Linked DNA regions of Homo sapiens: region 1 is linked to region 2. Evidence: promoter capture Hi-C in 16 types of primary human blood cells and fetal thymus (Javierre and others, 2016). All regions are on one chromosome and are shown on one strand. Each heading gives the region's core, a stretch centred on a gene start or on the middle of the fragment in contact. The rest is flanking DNA. Distances are from core to core; before and after follow the strand shown.

Region 1 (4,619 bases), core at 1,651-4,150, 240 kb after region 2:
ATTGAATTTAGTGTATATCCTTCCAATTAATCTATATACTTCTACACACAGGGATAAATGTTCCTCTGAAGAACATAAGCATTGCTTTGCAATTTTAAAGATTTACATGAATGCTTTCTTTAAAAAATATGAAATATTTCAGTCACTGAGAAAAAAATATATAGCAAACACTCTTAAACCCACCACCAGCTTTTTCAAATCTTTGTTTTACCATATTTCCTTCAGATGTTTTTAAAGAAATACAACATTGCAGATACAGTAGATGCCTCTGTGTAACCCACAATTCCAGTCTCTTTTTTGCCTATTATGTTTCCCAGTTTTAATTATACATGTGGATCTGCTTTATTTGAGTTGATTTACAGTTTTCCATTATATTAATAAATCACATTTTACTTGTTCATTTCTTTATGGTTATGGACTAAACGTCTGTGAATAACCCAAATTTAGATCTTGCAATCCTAACCCACATGTGATGGTATTTGGAGGTTGGGCATTTGGGAGGTGAACAGGCCATCGGACGGAGCCCTCATGAATGGGATTAGTACCCTTATAAGAAGAGACAGAGGCTGGGCACGGTGGCTCACTCTTGTAATCCCAGCCCTTTCGGAGGCCGAGGCAGGGGGATCACCTGAGGTCAAGAGTTCGAGACCAGACTGACCAACATGGTGAAACCCCCCCATCTCTACTAAAGATACAAAAATTAGCCGAGCATGGTGGTGCATGCCTGTAATCCCAGCAACTCAGGAGGCTGAGGCAGGAGAATTGCCTGAACCCAGGAGGCGGAGGTTGCAGTGAGCCGAGGTTGCGCCATTGCATTCCAGCCTGGGCAACAAGAGCAAAACTCTGCCTCAAAAAAAAGAAAAGAAAAGACAGAATAGATATCTCCCTACACCCACCCCATGAGTGGATGCAGTGAGATGATGGTCTTCTGCAAAGCAGGCTTGGGTCTCTCACCAGACACCAATCTGCCAGTGCCGTGATCTTGGGCTTCCTGGCTTCCAGAACTTTGAGAAATAAGCGTTGTTAAAGCCACACATTCTATGGTATTCTGTTACAGCAACCTAAACTGGCTAAGACACTTACTGATATATATTCAGATTGTTTTCAGTTTTTTGCTGTAATAGCAATGCTTCATCAGGCATCCTTGTACATGTCTGTTTATACACATGAGAAAAGTGTATCTAGGATATAGGAGATATATTTTAGCCATGTTCAAATGTATATGTATAAAACACTTATGCTTGGTTTGGTGCTGTTTAAGCTGTTATGCTGTAACAAACAAATAGTTATTTGTTTGCTGTTCACATTACATGTCAGCTGCAAGTTGGCCGAAATTCTATATGTATGCTTCAATTGGACATGCAGGCCGAAGGCAAAACCTCTATGTGGTTCATGCCAGCCTCGTGGCAGGGGGCAAAAAGTAATGACAGAACCACGTAATGGCTCTTAATGCCTCTGTGTGGAAGTTGCATAGTGACTTCGAGTCACATATTCTTGATCAAAGCAAGTCTCATAGCCAAGCCTGTGTCATCGGGGTGGTGGAAATAATCCTCACCAGAAATGGGCTCCCTCAGTACAGGAAAGAACAGAGCAGTGTGCTGAACACACGTGGGATCATACCATGGATACTCCTCTGCAGCTGTTTCTGCAGGGACGCATATCTGTTTAGACATTTTTCCATATCAGCACAGATCTACTTCTCTCTTCGAAGAGGATTTATTAGTTTGGCATTGTTAAGGCACATAACACTTACATTCTACTCCATAATTCTCACAGCTGTTTAGCTGTACATGATATTTGAAAGGATTCAATGCTAATGCCAATCTTTTTATGCCACAGCCTCCCCATTCCTAATACCTTGGCTGCATTTCAGCAAGTAATTTTTCACTGCTACACACAACAGGGCTGCAATGAACATCACTGCTTTAGCTTCCGTGCCAGTGTGTCTCTAGTTTGTTTTGATTTCTGATAAGGCAAGTTCCCCTTTCTTAAGTCTCCTTTTAAAAAATTATCTTGGCTATTCTTGTACAATAACTCTTTCATATAAATTTTATAATCAGCTGGACACGTTGTATTTAAGAAATCTTGCTGGGATGTTTCCTGAGACTGTGTTAAATTTATAGATTTGTTTGAGGGAGTTTGGAATAAAGAATGCTGCCAACTTTTCCAATCCAAGGATCTAGTATCTTTCTCCATTTATTCATGTCTTCTTTTATGCCCTTCAGTAAAGCTTTATAGCTCCCTCCACAGGGAATTTACATTTGTTTAGTGAAGTTGACCAGTATTTTATCTGCAAATAATGAAAACATTGCCGCTTTCTTTCCTATCTCATTCATTTTATTAACAAGGAAATTTACTCCTGGCAACCCTAACCCACATGTGATGGTATTTGGAGGTTGGGCATTTGGGAGGCGAACAGGCAGGAGAGCTGAGAGGTATGGACCAGCTCTCGAAGTCTTTCCCTCCATGTGGTCTGGATTTATATTATATTCGGCAGTTTTCTATAGTTGGGGATATGAGTTATCTCTTAATTTCACTGCAGATAAAAGTTTTACTTGATTTGGGGGGTTCTTTTCATCTGATGTGCTGGTCTTCGGGGAGGAAAGGGAGAAAGCAAACCTTTACTCTGCTAGCCTTCGCAGGAAGTCTCTACCTCCTCTTCAGACCAGACACACATCCTCCTCAAATTCCGTCGGCTCCTCTTCCTCTAGCCTCCAGACTCGGGTTCACCTGACGTGTTCATGAATCTTTATGGCAATCAATCACATCTATCTTGAATTATCTATTTTATCCTTGTTTTGCAATAGCAGTTAGTTTTTTGGTGTTACTTCACGTTTTCTTCCCAACCTCTCTCCTTCTGTTTTGTTTTGTTGCTCTAGCCTCAGAATTCTTTAGCCAAGCAAATCAAACATTTACAAATCAAATATAAAGTAGATGAAACGGAGCTTCTCTGCAATAGGGGCCCCACAGACCCTGCTCTCAGCCTTCCTCCCATCTAAAGCACCTGCACTGAAATCAGTGCCCCTGGAGAATAGTTCGATGACAATACGTCTAGTAGTTCCATCTGCCTTTTTACAAATACATTTCACTTACTTGGCAGACATCTTAGGTAGAGCATGAAGCTGCTACAAAATCTACAGTCTTTTATTACACATGGTTAATAGCTTTAATCCAATCTGATTTGCATTCCAAAGAAATTTTAAAAGTGCATCCACTCCTATATTTTATGAATGTGACTTAAAATTTTAATGCAGATTATAAATATGATAGATTTGCAGATCAAAACTCGGTTGCTTGTAGTACAACATTTAAAAATCACCATTTTCCACCTCCTCACCAAGGATAACCTTCTCCTTAGTGATCAGCCCTGCTGTGATAGCAGGATAACACTGAGGCTTGGGCAAAGAGAAACACTGAAGAGCCAGAAAGGCAATCTTGTAGAACCAATTCTGGATGGCTAGTTCTACCTAATCGTCCATCAATGCTACTTACACCTTTGGCCAAAGAAGCAAATAGAATGAAGTGTTAGGAAAAAGGTTTTCACAATTTACTTTCTACTTACTAAGCTTGTACACTGCCTCTCCATTTTTCTCTTCTTTAAATTGTGATAAAATACATATAAAATTAGCCATCTTAACCATTTTTAAGTGTACAGTTCAGTGATAGTAAATGTGTTCACACTGTTGTGAAACTAATCTCTACAACTGTTTTCATCGTGCAAAACTGAAACTCTGCACCCATTAAACTCTAACTCCCCATCCTCCCGCACCCCGATCCTGGCCCCACCACCTGGCAACCCCTCTTCTGCTTTCTGTCGTCATGAATTTGACGGCTCTGGGGGCCCCACAGAAGTGGGATCATAGAGTGTTTGTCCTTTGGTGACTGGCTTGTTTCACTTAGCGTAATGTCTTCAGGATTCATCTGTTGTAGCAGTGCAAGACTTCCTTTTTAAGGCTGAGTAATACTCCACTGAGCACACAGACCACATTTGTTCATTCATTCATCCACGGATGGACACCTAGGCTACTTCCACCTTTTGGATATTGTGTCTCTCTCTTTTAATCAATAATGCGCTCATTTTTACAAGAAAATAAACATTGGGAATAAATGTAAACTCAAAATACATCAATCAAATGTGGATCACTGTGGTTTTGCTGATCCAGCCAGGAAACTCCTCAAAACCGGGTCTTCATAAGACTCAGTCTTCCAGGAGGAAACTCAGAGGCAGTGGTAGCTGCAATATTATTCTCTTGCTGACCAAGAGTGAACAGATTACAGGTAAGGAAATGAAAAACCAGAAAAGTCAGGACCAAAGGAGAATCCTGCAGCAACAAATGGAGAGGGAAGGAAGACTGCCCGAGAAGCTCGCCCTGACAGAGCCGTCCAGGCACGCGGGCTGCACCTCAGTGGGCACTGGGCCACATGCCCTGAAATGTGAGCTCCCAAGGCAGATGACACGAGACAAACAGAGAGGGCACTGGCCGGGGAAGTCAGGCTGACCTAGGTCCCGCCAGCCTCGGGCCTTCTGTGGCCTTGGGCAGGTCCCTGTGACCTGGGTTTCTTCTCCTGCCCATGGACATTACAGTTCCTGCCCACAGGACAGTCGCTGGAATAAATAA
Region 2 (4,255 bases), core at 1,106-3,605:
CACCATAGCTTCCATTAGCAACTGCAGCCAAGCCACTGAGGAAATTACAGATACCACTGATGCTATTCACAGCCAAAGAGATTCATGGGATGGGGAGACAGGTCCTTGGGATTTTACTGTTGTCTAGGAAGCAGAATCTTTTCCAACTTTATTTCGTGTAAAGTGTTCATTACAGCATGAATACAAGATGTATTCAATCCACAAATACAACAGCCCACAGGCATTCAGGAGGTTGTACATCACAAAAGAGAAAAATCAAGACTAACAGCATAATGAACTGTTGTTTGGGGGAATTTGACCATCTGATTCTAAAATCTGTATGGAAATGAAAAGAACCAAAAATAGCCAAGACACTCACACACACAAAAAAGATAAGTGGGAAGATTTGGCTCTGTTGGAGACAGACTCATAGATAGATAGATAGATAGATAGATAGATAGATAGATAGATAGATAGATAGATGATAGATAGATCTTATTTAAAAGTTTATTAACTTATTATGAAGCTATAGCAGTAAGACAGCATGGCATTAGTGCAAGTATAGACAAATAGAACAATAGAACAGATTAAGGTTCCCAGCATCAGACTCACGCATATGTGGAGCCTGATTTAAAACAAAGGTGGCACAGCTAGACAGTAGAGAAACAACAATCTTTTCAATAATTTTTGGTCTTGAAACAATTGGTTTTCCATAGGGGAAAAGAAAACTAAATAGGACCCCTAATTTATACCATACACAGAAATCATCACAGGTGGTTATAGAGCTAAATGAGAAAGAAAAATAATAAAGAAAAAAGAAAGATAATATAGGAAATAGTTTTATGACCTGGGAGTAGGGAAAGATTAGTAAGCAAGAACCAGAAAATTAAGAATATGTGTGCTTACTGTATTGGCTGGGTGGGGTGGCTCATGCCTGTAATCCCAGCACTTTGGAAGGCTGAGGCAAGTGGATCCCCTGAGGTCAGGAGTTCCAGACCAGCCTGGCCAACGTGGCAAAACCCCATCTCTACTAAAAATACAAAAATTAGCCAGGTGTGGTGGTGGGCACCTGTAGTCCCAGCTACTTCGGAGGCTGAGGCAGGAGAATCGTTCGAACCCAGGAGATGGAGGTTGCAGTAAGCCGAGTTTGGGCCATTGCACTCCAGCCTGGGTGATGAGCAAGACTGTCTCAAAAAACAATAATAATAATAATATTGAGTACCTACTGTATGGCAGTGTGCGTGCAAAGCATTTTATAAGCTGTATCTCATTTCATCCTGAAAAAAAACCACGCATAACCTTCCAATGCACTTTTTGAGGAGTTCTTGAGGCTGAGATGCTAAATAATGCATCTGAGGGTCTAGGCCTGCAAAGCAGAGTGTACCCAGGAATACCATGCTCCACTGACACACCACACACAGCCCTGTGGTTGTTGGCTGCCTGCGTAAAAGCCTGCCTTAAGGGTCAGAACAAAATCAAAGTTAGTGTCATCTTCACCCTCAGACATCCCTCATCACCCCAAGAGAGACAGGCCTAAGGGCCCTTCTCCAGGGCTGAGTCTCTGTCACTCCAGAGAAGCCCTGTCTGGCTCCACTCTGGACACTGTGCATCCAACCTTGAACACAGCACTGAACCGACTCTTCTAAGGGAGAGTTTCAACTCCTCAACTCCAAAAAAGAAATCTCTCCTAGAACCTTCAGAGTCCCCTCATCCTAGCCAACGTTTCATACCAGCCATTTGGAGAACAAAGTCCATCAGTGAACTTTTCCAGGACTTTTTTTTTTTTTTTTTTTTGCAGTATCTGCCTTCAGCCAGGTAAATAAGTCAGCTGCTAGACAAGGAAGCTGTCCCTTCTCCACTAGTTCTGAGCCCCTACCTTCTCTTGGTCAGGCCACTGGTTGACAATTTGAGAGACTCCGTGTGTCGGAACTGTCTTTCCAGGCTTAAATTCAGCCTGTGTTTCATAACACCCTTTCTCTGCGCTCCTGAGCTTTCAGTGGTGCTCCAGAGGAAAGGAGAGACAGAGCAGACATTTTCACTGCCATGTTTATATCAAAGTACATTTGAAGGCAGAGGGAAAGCGCTCAGGCCTAGGCATGGGGATCCTGGTCTTTTCTCCTATTCTGCTATCAGGAAACGTGACAGCCTTAGCTGAGTCTCTGGTTTTCCCGCGGTTTGTAGAAAAGGAGGTAGCACTGAAAGGCCAGGGCCTTTTCTTCCTCGAATTCTGCAGAACCCTGTGATCTCCTCAGTCTGCCCCTCCAGGAAGAGTGAGGCCAGGGTCCAGCCCCACCCATCGCAGCCCAGCCCAGCTCTATAAAGGAGCCTCCCAGGCAGACACCACTGGGAGTTCCAACTCTGTGCCCTCTTCGGCCATGAACCTCTGTCTTTCTGCATTACTCTTTTTCCTGGTGATCTTACTGCCTTCAGGTAAGACAGTGGGCGTGAGTCTGAACATAAAAGTGGGTGTTCCCAAAGATTGAGATGCTTAAAAAACCCTCTAACTATAAGCCCAGCAACAGGACACCAATATCAAATGGGCCACCATGTTAGGGGCATGGTGAGCGGACCCCAGCTCCTGCCCTGCTCTGCTGTTGCTGCAGCTGGAAGATCTGCCAGTGCACCGGGGACGGGGGTGGATGTCATTGTGCACACAGATCGTGCAGCCACCCAGATTCCTATCTCCCCTCCAATGCCTCTGGCTACCCTGAGCTTTATCTGCCTTGCTGAGTTGTGATAAGAGGTGAGGTAAATCACAACTAACAAGCCATCAACCAGGAGGTGATGGCAAGCCTAGGATTTCTCCCAGCCTCATTAAGATTGATTTTTCTTTTCTGTGGTCTCTCCCCGCTTCAGGAAAAGGTATGTTTGGGAATGATGGAGTCAAAGTTCGCACCTGCACTAGCCAGAAAGCCGTATGTTTCTTCGGGTGTCCGCCAGGATACAGGTGGATTGCGTTCTGCCACAATATTCTGTCTTGCTGTAAAAATATGACACGTTTTCAACCCCCGCAAGCCAAAGATCCATGGGTTCATTAAAAGGATATGTGAATGGCTCAAAGTACTACACTCCTAATCTGTGTGTCAGGATCTTAGAGCTCGTAAGTGAGCCATGGGCAGAAATGAGGACCACATTCTGACAATTTACTGGCAAAATTCCAGAAACATTTTGTAAAGGCAGCACTGCCATGAAATGCATCCCCTGTTATTTTTCCTACCCTCCCATCTCCAATCACTCATTCCTCTTTCAAATTCAAATTCAGGCCAGGCGCAGTGGCTCACGCCTGCCCGCCTGTAATCCCAACACTTTGGGAGGCTAAGGTGAGCAGATCACTTGAGGTCAGGAGTTTGTGACCAGCCTGGCCAACATGGTGAAACCTCATCTCTACTAAAAATACAAAAATCTTCCGGGTGTGGTGGGTGCATGTAATCCTAGCTACTCAGGAGGCTGAGGCAGGAGAATTGCTTGAACCCGGGAGACGGAGGTTGCATTGAAAAGAGATCACGACACTGCACTCCAGCCTGGACAACAGAGTGAGATTCCGTCTCAAAAAATAATAATAAAAATTCAAATTCTATTGATTAATACAAGTTCACAGGCCCAAGCAATGATATATTCTGGCCATAGAAACAAAAGCTAACCACACACCAGTCACACACTTGAGTGGTTTACATCTATTAGGGAAATTACTCCACACAATAAAATCTACAATTTCTCCCATTTGGCAGATGAAGAATATTTTCCAAGGTCACACGACAAGAGTTAGTCCCAGGTTTAAATCCACAGAGTCTGCACGCAGTGTCTTGAGTGTAAAGTTGCACCACCTCTCCATTAGTAAGCATGGGAATCAAGCTAGATTGTGGTTCCAGTGAGGAGGCAAGAATCCAACTAGACCCCCCGAATGGCAAGACCCTCAATGCTCATCCTGTGGTTTAAAGCCATCATGCTTCTGGTTGCCAAGTTGCTTTCATGGCTCTGTACTCAGTGGCTTTCACGAGTCCCGATCGGTTTCACCCTAAAATCCCACACACCGAACATGCTACTTTCACCAGTGCGGTGACACACTGGACCCTACACCCATTCCAAACCTGCAGCTGTCTGAAGGCAGCACTGTCCAAGAGCACGTCCTCACCATCCACTCCAGGGTTCCCACCTGGAGGCAGAGGCCTCGGGTCTGCATTGAGACCCTCCTCATTCTCTACTAAGAAAACAGAAGGGCAGCTGAGTTTTGGATCTCCCTTCTCCACAAACATGCCTAGCAGGCACACTCTGAACC

Evidence for each region. Contacts are between HindIII fragments. The CHiCAGO score rates a contact against its expected background, and 5 or more counts as called.
Region 1: a fragment that was not itself captured here is called in contact with the fragment with the promoter of DEFB136 in region 2 in 16 of 17 cell types (erythroblasts, neutrophils, non-activated CD4 T cells and 13 more); the score reaches 8.6 in erythroblasts.

The regions. Positions count from the first base shown.
Region 1 is chr8:11,730,735-11,735,353 of GRCh38, reverse strand. The region is part of intron 2 of GATA4 (GATA binding protein 4); the gene reads right to left. Among named protein-coding and RNA genes, the nearest start is that of SNORA99, 28 kb to the right of the region's middle. The HindIII fragment of the contact is 1,336 bases long and covers 2,233-3,568 here.
Region 2 is chr8:11,972,699-11,976,953 of GRCh38, reverse strand. It overlaps DEFB136 (defensin beta 136), which reads left to right and starts at 2,355. Exons shown (of 2, transcript NM_001033018.2): 1 at 2,355-2,409; 2 at 2,836-3,017. The coding sequence starts at 2,355. The coding sequence ends at 3,017. The HindIII fragment of the contact is 18,049 bases long and covers 1-4,255 here.